3 separate regions of the Homo sapiens genome follow, and regions 1 and 3 are each linked to region 2. The links are contacts of gene promoters, found by promoter capture Hi-C in blood cells and fetal thymus (Javierre and others, 2016). All regions are on one chromosome and are shown on one strand. Each heading gives the region's core, a stretch centred on a gene start or on the middle of the fragment in contact. The rest is flanking DNA. Distances are from core to core; before and after follow the strand shown.

Region 1 (3,328 bases), core at 747-3,246, 570 kb before region 2:
AGGCTGGTCTTGAACTCCTGGGCTGAAGCAATCCTTCTACCTTGGCCTCCTAAAGTGTTAGGATTGCTTGTGTAGGCCACCATGCCCTGCCACATTCTTGTTTTCATAATTAATCTGAAATTTGTTTTATCCTTAAGAGTTGTTTTTAGGTAATTTTAACTGTAGAAATTCAGCATGGTTTATCAAAATATTTTTTGTAAAATGGAACTTTATTCTACAATGTATCGAAAATTGCAAGACACAAGTACCATTGAAACAGGTAAAGGTTTATTATATAGAATGGTGAAACATAAAGAAAATAATTTTATTCTTTTTAAGGAGCCTTCATTAAGAAAACCCAATTTAAAGATATTTCTGTTTCCAAATAATTTATGTATATTTGTTGCAGCATAATTCTCCAAACATACCTAATGTAAAATACAAAACTATTTGAAACCGAATTCAAATATAAAATATATATGTGTGTGTATATATATACATACATATGTATGTACATATATGTATATGTACACATATATACATATATATGTATATGAGCTATAAATGACTGTGCTAAAGATGCAGAAACCTGAAGACTCATCAGTGCGTCCTCAAATCAGGCAGGTTGGTCAGCCACCAACAAGCCTCACCTTTTCAAGTCCTTGCCCACCAATTAAGGGAAAATGTCTATAATGAACCATAGACTAACAAAGATTTTATAAAATGACTTTCAAAGGATTTTTTCCCGAAATGCCCTATGTGATCTGGCAACTGCCTCCTTGTCCTCTTTTTTCTCTACCTCCAAAATAAATCAGGTTCTGTGACGTTTGATGCTAAACCATAATTCGGCTTTGGGCATTTTAATTAAGATATTTTTGTGAAATTCACTTATCTGTGGCATCTTTTTTCTTCTTTTTCTAAATTCATATTCTAAACATTTCAGGAACTAAAACTTCAATACTACATCAACCGTATTATTATGGTAGCTTTCTTCCTTTAAGTGGACATTTAAAGTTCTCTTCAAAGCAATGAAAAAGAATGGCAAATAATCTCCACAAGAATGAGTTATATGAATATGTTTTGAGATTTTGATACCTCTGTTCTTGAAATATCTACTAGCAACTCATTAGGTCAGAGTCTTAGAGCTTAGACATAGTGAAGCTCAGAATGCAATAAAGGGGACAAAAGTCCTGTAGACTAGGCATTAAAAAACCTTTTTAACCTTTAAGACAGAGTCTTGCTCTGTTGCCCAGGCTGGAGTGCAGTGGCATGATCCTGGCTCACTGCAACTTCCACCTCCTGGGTTCAAGCAATTCTCCTGCCTCAGCCTCTCATAAAAAACATTCTTGTTAGCCAGTTATGTGAACGGGATAAATCCACTGGGCATATGATACATTTTTTCACATTACTGCTGTCATCATTCCTTAGTTGCTTTTTTCTTTAGGATCCTGGAGTTGTCTGAAAAGATTGACATTATTCGACTATTTCTCTGGCATTTCAATGAGAATAGACTATTAACAAAGGAAAGTGAACTCAAAAATAGTAAATTAGACCCCTTAACTTGCTCGTATCAGCAGAAAAATAGATTAACAATTTTTTTTCAGATTCTTTCCCTACACTGATAGTTTTCCAGCTACTTATAAGATCTCATCTTGATATCAACAGTGTTAGATATTAACAAAATACAATAGCATTAAGAAGACGTATTTCATCATTCTACTTTATTGAGAACCTAAATAACCAGTTGAGAGTTATGTAGGGAAAGCAAGATTAGAACCCACGTTTTCTGTCTGCTGATACTGTGCTTTGTCATTCTGTGACACTACACTGCTTCTAATAAAAGGCCTTCTATTTCTTAATTTTTAAGAGTAAAAATATATCTTAAGCAAAAACAATATGTTGAAAACAAATCTCTGTGGGTTTTTTTTTCTTTTTCTAGAAGTTACACATATTTCTTAGTAGGAATACATTTCCATCTTTCTGTTTGGAGTGAGTCACATTTTAATGTTTTGTTTCAGAATTTGCATCTGAAGGGTTAATAAAGATACAGTATGGCATAAAGGCTAAACATAGCTCTTAATGCTGCTGGCGATCATCCCCTGGAATATACTAGTGCTGAGATTTATGGAGCCCCTTAGGCTCCCACAGACCCTCAGCTTCAGGGAAAGGAAGGCTCACTCCAGAGAACAATGTGCATATATTCATTCTGCTGCCCTGCGGCACAGCCCAGCCTGCTAACCTGGTCACCTTCTGCCTCACTCTTCAGTCTTAGCTTTTGCGTTGATGTACACGTAAATCACTTGGGACACAGAGTGAAATCACAGTATTTAATCAGCATACTCACTGGTCAATTTTACTTGCCTCCTTGCAAAGAAGCAAGTCTTATTTCAGAGCTCTAAGCTGTTAATTATTGTAAGCAATCCATCAAATACATAGGTTTCTGAAATATGTTGGACTATGATTTAATTATTTTCCTCAATTATTATTTTCTGCTATTTCAATTTTTGAAAGCCATACAATTAATCAGTTATAATTGGGTATGGGCGCCTCTCCACCAATCCATGACCCCCAGCGCCTGCATCAGATGTTGAAATAACACGATAAATGTGTTTGGATGAAAAAATACTGTGGTGACATGTTTGGATGAATCAAGTTCACATAAATGGTACAATAGATGGGATGAGCATGCAAGCTAACATAGCTTTATATTGCTTATGTTTACAGATTTGTGCAAGTCTTAGAAGCCTAGATACACTTACTATGCACCATATTTAAGAATTGTTGATTGAAGAGGTGGACAATAAAACAATCAAGCCATATTTCCTGCATGCAAAGGACCAGTAATTAAGGATGAAGGGGCATGCTCTCTTCCTCCCCTGCTTTCCCCTATTGTTACCAAACATTAAATATTCAAAAGCATTTGACTAAAAATGTCACTACACATTTATAATATTCCATTAAAGCTGATATAAAAAATATTAATAGACATTTGTTATGGTATTATAGCATAAAAAGGCTGTAGCGGCCGGGCGCGGTGGCTCACGCCTGTAATCCCAGCACTTTGGGAGGCCGAGGCGGGTGGATCATGAGGTCAGGAGATCGAGACCATCCTGGCTAACAAGGTGAAACCCTGTCTCTACTAAAAATACAAAAAATTAGCCGGGCGCGGTGGCGGGCGCCTGTAGTCCCAGCTACTCGGGAGGCTGAGGCAGGAGAATGGCGTGAACCCAGGAAGCGGAGCTTGCAGTGAGCCGAGATTGCGCCACTGCAGTCCGCAGTCCGGCCTGGGCGACAGAGCGAGACTCCGTCTCAAAAAAAAAAAAAAAAAAAAAAAAAAAAAAAAAAAAAA
Region 2 (3,227 bases), core at 562-3,061:
TGTTGGATGTACAAATGAACATTACAATTTCCCCTGTATCTTTGGGTCTTCATTCTGAAGGTTCTCATGTATATATGCTAAATAAACTTGCATGCATTTCCTCCAATTACTCTGTCCTTTGTGAGTAGATTTTTCGGTGAACCTCAGCGATCAGAGAGGAGAGCTACAGGAGCCCTGCTTGAACCTTGAAATGCTATGATGACAGACCGTAGCCTTAAAGCAGTTTATAGTGTTGTAGGGTAAACACATAAACAGGCCAATATCATTCTTTGCCATGAGGGATATGATGAGAGGAAGTACATGGAGGTTAACTGAGTTATTTCTTTTAGTTTCTTTGTTTTTGGCATGTGAATTATGAAACTTTAAAACACCTCCAGTGCAAAAAAAATTTTTTTTAAATTAACATGGTGGTTGGTGCACTGTGTTTCTAAAATATGGAGTACAATGTAAAGCAATGCATTCTTTTTTTAAAAATTTATTGTTATTTTGAAAAATTTTTGTAGAGATGAGGTCTCACTGCCTTGCCCATAGCTGGTCTTGAACTCCTGGGCTAAAGCGATCCTCCTACCTCGGGCTCCCAAAGTGCTGGGATTACAGGCGTGAGCCACTGCGCCCAGCCGCATTCTTGTTTTCATCTGTGAAATACGTTTTTAAGGTAAATACTTAAAGTTGATGGAGACACCTGGTCTACTTAAGCTCTCATTCAGAACACACTGCCTTGTGCTTTTAAAAAAATTAAATGGATAATCTAAATTGGCAGCTACCAATTAATTTATATCCATAGTTGCTAAAAAATGTTAGTGTAAGTTCATTTTTATTAGTCGCATCATTTTGAGTTTTAAACTATTTCACATGCAGTAAAATTTATACCTCTTATGGGTTTTGTCAAACAGTGGTTTAGTCACCAACACAATCACGGTATAGAAGCTCTCAAGCTCCTTTTCAGTCACCCCCTTCCTCCAGCCCTTTGCCCTGGTCGCCACTGATCAGTATTCTCTCCTTTTAAAAACACTTATTATTTGGAAATAATTATAGACACAGGAAATTGCAAAAATACTACAGCACCTAGAGTCCCGTGTACCTATCACCTAGTTTCCTCCAATGGTGACATCTTACACAACTGTAGTACAAGATCAAAAAACTATGTCATGTAGTTTGAAGGCAGGTTTTCCTTTCACTTCTTCGCCTGCATTTTCTCCTTTCATTTCCAACAAATTTAACTCTGTTGTTAGAAGGAGCAGATGCTAGTTTTCTTTCAGATGTCTGCTATTTCAGTTCGATTACCCCTGTTACTCCTACATTTTTTCTAGTCTTTATCCCCATCGTTTCGCCCCAATTTAATTTTGCTGCTAGTTTTTTTTTTTTCTCCTCTGGGATATGTGCCACAGATGGTACTATTGTCAATATTCGAATTCCTAACTTCTCCCTCCATCCGTAAGTTTTCAAGGGGTAGCCGTGCTTGTGCTTAATTGTGGTGTTTACAGGACTTTTTGTAGCGTAAGCATGCTGGCATGGTTCCCCAACCTCTTAGGGGGATGCTAGTAACCCGCTCCCCCGTCAACGAGCCGCCTTTGTGCTCCGCGGAGGGCACCGCCTGCGTTGGGTTGGAGGTGGGGGTTGGCGGGGGAGAGCTGCCCGCCAGGCGAGGGGCGGGGCCTTGGCGGGGGTGGTCGCGGGCGGCGGGGAGGTCTCGCTTCCCTCCTCTCCACCCGCTCCCAGTCCCGGCCTGGGTCTCAGCCCCGCCCTGCCCAGAGCGCGCGGCCGATCACGTCACCGGCCTGCGCTAGGCGGCCCCCACGGCGCGGGAAGGCGCAGTGCGCACGCTCCGACTCGGCCGTGGCGGACCTGACTGAAGGAGGCCGCGGACCTGACTGAAGGAGGCCACGGCCACTTCTGGTTGGCCTCGGGGCGCGCTGGCTCGGCTCTTCCTCCGCCCTCGAGGCCCCCGCAGTCCCATCATTCAGTTCCGTAGGGTCACCGGCGCGGCAGTGGCCTCGCAGGGCGCTGGGTCCCTCTCCCCAGCTCTCCTCCCCCTGGCCCCGTCGCCCCGCCCTCGCCGGGCTGGGCTGCGGGGTCAGGGGCCGAGCGGAGAGGGGTGAGTATTCCCCACAGCCCTTGCCGGTTGTCTCCTCCCGGCTCTGCTTCCCACACGGTCCTTGCCCCACTCCTAGGACAGGGAGGAAGGGCACGCGCGGGTAGGCGGGAAACAGCCCAGTCCTGAACAAAAGGCCGGGGAAGCGGGTCCCCGCCGGTAACTGCAGGCCTGTGCTGGCCGCCGCGAGCGGGGAAGGGCGAGGACACTCCCTCCTCGGGGACCCGGTCCCCGTCGCGCACACGGTGTCACCAGCACACCTGGCCCAGTACCCAAAGCACCCTCGAAGTGGGTAGTAACTACTTTGTGTTTAAAATCCACATACTGATAGCAAATCTTTGGTTGAAACAGTATTAAATTACTGGGGCTTCCAGTGGCTGAGTCCAACTTAATTTGAAGTTTCAGATTAAGTATCAGGAGGAATAACTTGATATTTAGAGCCAACAGGTCTTTCTTTTTTTTTTAAACCTCCCAAAAAACCTATAAAATCAAGAATTGGCGGGGAGGACCGGAGAATGATAAAGGAATAGTTGACTGATTTATAGAAACTTTTAGTGGCGGTAAAAATTACAAAAGTATTGGAAATAAGGCAAAAGGACAGCATGTTTTTTTCAGAGTCAAAATGGAGCCTAACAGGCCCACCTGAAGATGATTTAGATGTCTAGGGGACTATATTTTGTTTGGCATGATGATATTGATTAGGGCCTAGGCTTTGTAGTTAACATCTTTTTCATTAATGGAGATGCAAATTATTTCTGAGTGGGAGAGAAAAAAATACAGTACTCCTAAAGGTTGTAGTTTTAGTGCCTTGTAGGATATTAGCCATTTTTCTTTTCTTTTTTTTGAGACAGAGTCTTGCTCTGTCGCCCAGGCTGGAGTGCAGTGGCACGATCTCGGCTCACTGCAACCTCTGCCTCTCGGGTTAAAGCAATTCTCCTGCCTCAGCCTCCCGAGTTGCTGGGACTACAGGTGCCCGCCACCACGCTCAGCTAATTTTTGTAAGTTTAGTAGAGACGGGGTTTCACCATATTGGCCAGGCTGGTCCGGAACTCCTGATTTTGTGATCCGCCTGCCTCGGCCTCCCAAAGTACTGGGATCACAGGCGTCAGCCACCGCGCCCGGCCAATATTAACCA
Region 3 (2,995 bases), core at 58-2,557, 530 kb before region 2:
ACCAGAGTTGGTTGAATCTGAAACAAAATATTACTTAATTAAAATATTTCTTTAGAGTCTATACCCAATTCATCACAAAGTAATGATCAAAGATGGTTTGCATACAGATACCTCTCTCTATATAAGCTGCAACACTTGAAATTGTCATTACTAAAAATAAATACCCACAGTCATTTTCTGACCCCAAAATTGTCATTCTGAGGTCATAAATTAGGTATGAGGAATCACTTCAATAATTCAGGTAAAAGGATTATTAGAAATTTAAAAAATTATAGTAAAGTTTTTCTTTTTAAAAAAGATACTTTTTTACTTCAAGCAATTCTATGTGTGTGTATGTGTGTATATGTAATATATAATATCTCTTAAAATTCAGATTCAGTTGCTTTTCAGTTTTATTTCCTTAAGTTTCCAATATACAAATTTTAAAAATAGTCTTTTTACTTAATAATTAGTGAAAGCTGGTGGACTATCCTGGCTTAATTCCGAAAGAAAAAGATTAGAGTAAGAGTATACAATTAGAATAATGTAATTCTCCTGTTTGAACTAAAAGCCAGCTTCTTCCAGCACAACTTCTGATGAAATGTTTTTACTCACTTTATTTTTGATTTATTATAATAAAAATATCTGTACTGCATATCCATATAAATATATGTAACATTGTGCAGTATTTAAAAAATTTATATTTCATGTCTGTTAGCTAATTCTAATTAAGTCTCTGAGCATACATGTTTTTATAATATAAAACCTAGAGTGAAAGGCTAAATATTTTACATTGAGAAAATATAAATGATAAATTATGGTTTTCTATTTTTCCACATTATACAGTTTTCTTAAATATAATGTAGTAGGCCTCTTTTGTTTTATTTTGTTTTTTTAGACAGAGTCTTGCTCTATCGCCCAGGCTGGAGTGCAGTGGCACAATCTTGGCTCACTGCAACCTCCGCCTCCCGGGTTCAAGCGATTCTCTTGCCTCAGCCTCCCAAGTAGCTGGGACTACAAGTGCATGCCACCACGCCTGGCTAATTTTTTATACTTTTAGTAGAGATGGGGTTTCACTGTGTTAGCCAGGATGGTCTTGATCTCCTGACCCTGTGATCTGCCCACCTTGGCCTCCCAAAGTGCTGGGATTACAGGCGTGAGCCACCGCGCCCCGCCAGTAGGCCCATTTTGAGAAAAAGATGTGTTTAAAATTTTTGTACTGATTTGAGACAGAAGGTAAGTATCATTTACTTTCTCATGGCAGTAACCATAGAGTGGCAATTACTTTTCCTTTTACTGTGTGATTACTCATTAGACATTAATAAGTTTATTATTTTAGTGTGTATTACTTACAGAGTAGATCTCATGTCATTTATTGGTTGGCTGTGAACAATGACCCATAAATCTAAATACTGTATCTTATTTGAATATATCTATTTGAATATATCATAATGTTGAAAAAGTTGGAGTGCCTACCTCAGGTTGACCCTATTTGTTTATTCTAAGGAAGGTCCTAACCTACTTTTGTGACCTTAACTGTTTTTACATCCTTGTGTATGCTATACTCCTGTCAACCCAGGCTACTTGTTTTTTCCTGTGACCAACCTTTCTGCCTCCATGATTTTGTTCTTTCTTCCTCCAAACACCTTCTCAATCTCTATGCACTGAAATTCTACTCACTATCGAAGGGCTATCTCAAATGTTATGTCTTCCATGAGGTTTTTTCCTGGCAGTTCCAAGTGCATGAGTGCTCCCCTCCCACTGAGTTCTGCCTTCCATTATAGGAATACTTTACTGCTTTATTCGTTCCTCCTGCTTCCAACTAGGACATAATAAGCTCATGGAGAGAAGGAAAGGACCGTGTCTTACTCATCTTGTGTACTAAAGACAATAAGTACTGCTAACTTAGATTTAACTGTTGGAATAAACTCAATCACACACAAGATTAACTTTAAAAAATCTTGGATTGCTTTTTAAACATAGGAAATCTTCAAATGGTTTTTCAACTGTATTGGCCTTACTCTTGGTAAAAGGAAGATGGGCTACATATTTTAAATGTGCACAAAGAAAAGAAATTTATCATTTTAAAGACTAATCAAGAATATAATTTCATCTGCTACAGAAAAAATTTGAGAGAGATAAGATTGGTATTTATGGCCAGGCGAGGTGGCTCACACCTGTAATCCCAGCACTTTGGGAGGCCAAGGCAGGTGAATCACTTGAGGTTAGGAGTTCCAGACCAGCCTTGCCAACATGGTGAAACCCCGTCTCTACTAAAAATACAAAAATTAGCCGGGCATGGTGGCACACTCCTGTAATCCCAGCTACTCGGGAGGCTGCAGCAGGAGAATTGCTTGAATCCAGGAGGCTGAGCTTGCAGCGAGCTGAGATTGTGCCACTGCACTCCAGCCTGGGTGACAGAGGCTCTGTCTCAGCAAAGAAAAAAAAAATTTTATATATATATATATATATATATATATATATATATATATGTATGTATTTACTGGAAAATGTCTGACTTCTATGTACAGAAAAACTTTACAATAAAGTGGATCTCCTGGGACCTCCTTTCTTGTGGGTGGGGTGCTGGCTGAGTATTAGAGGAGTGACTGTGACACAGGATGAACACATAAAAGAGTATGCAAAAAGACTAGGAAGATGTACTTGTGGCAATTTCTGGTTTGAAAGGAAGATTACTTATTGCCTGCAATGTTCAGTGTTGCTCCAAAAACTTTTTTTTAGTCTTGCAGTGAAGCATTTATTATTCACATGCTACCTTCATAAATTAAACATTAACTTCACCATATAAGAACATAAATATGGGCAAGATGATCAGTTGATATAATTCTATCTTCGATGAATTGTATCATTTTCAATGAAGATGCCTTCAGGACACAGACCATTAAATATCCAAGGAGTTAGTGAAGCAAAGTAAAATTTTGTATTAATTATCAAGTTTATGATTTTTCTAAATTGAAAGGGCTCAAAATTAAAAATTTTTATTGGTATGATCAAT

What was found. Contacts are between HindIII fragments. The CHiCAGO score rates a contact against its expected background, and 5 or more counts as called.
Region 1: a fragment that was not itself captured here is called in contact with the fragment with the promoter of ATG10 in region 2 in 1 of 17 cell types (non-activated CD4 T cells); the score reaches 5.0 in non-activated CD4 T cells.
Region 3: a contact is called between a fragment that was not itself captured here and the fragment with the promoter of ATG10 in region 2, in 2 of 17 cell types (total CD4 T cells and non-activated CD4 T cells). The highest score is 5.8, in total CD4 T cells.

Annotation. Positions count from the first base shown.
Region 1 is chr5:81,403,141-81,406,468 of GRCh38, forward strand. No RefSeq gene overlaps it. Among named protein-coding and RNA genes, the nearest start is that of ACOT12, 11 kb to the left of the region's middle. The HindIII fragment of the contact is 5,410 bases long and covers 1-3,328 here.
Region 2 is chr5:81,970,212-81,973,438 of GRCh38, forward strand. It overlaps ATG10 (autophagy related 10), which reads left to right and starts at 1,812. Exons shown (of 8, transcript NM_031482.5): 1 at 1,812-2,095. RefSeq lists enhancers at 1,345-1,902, 1,903-2,458 and silencers at 1,473-1,802, 1,973-2,212. The HindIII fragment of the contact is 10,147 bases long and covers 1-3,227 here.
Region 3 is chr5:81,442,707-81,445,701 of GRCh38, forward strand. SSBP2 (single stranded DNA binding protein 2) reads right to left here. Exons shown (of 17, transcript NM_001256732.3): 13 at 1-17. Among named protein-coding and RNA genes, the nearest start is that of ACOT12, 50 kb to the left of the region's middle. The HindIII fragment of the contact is 3,403 bases long and covers 1-2,995 here.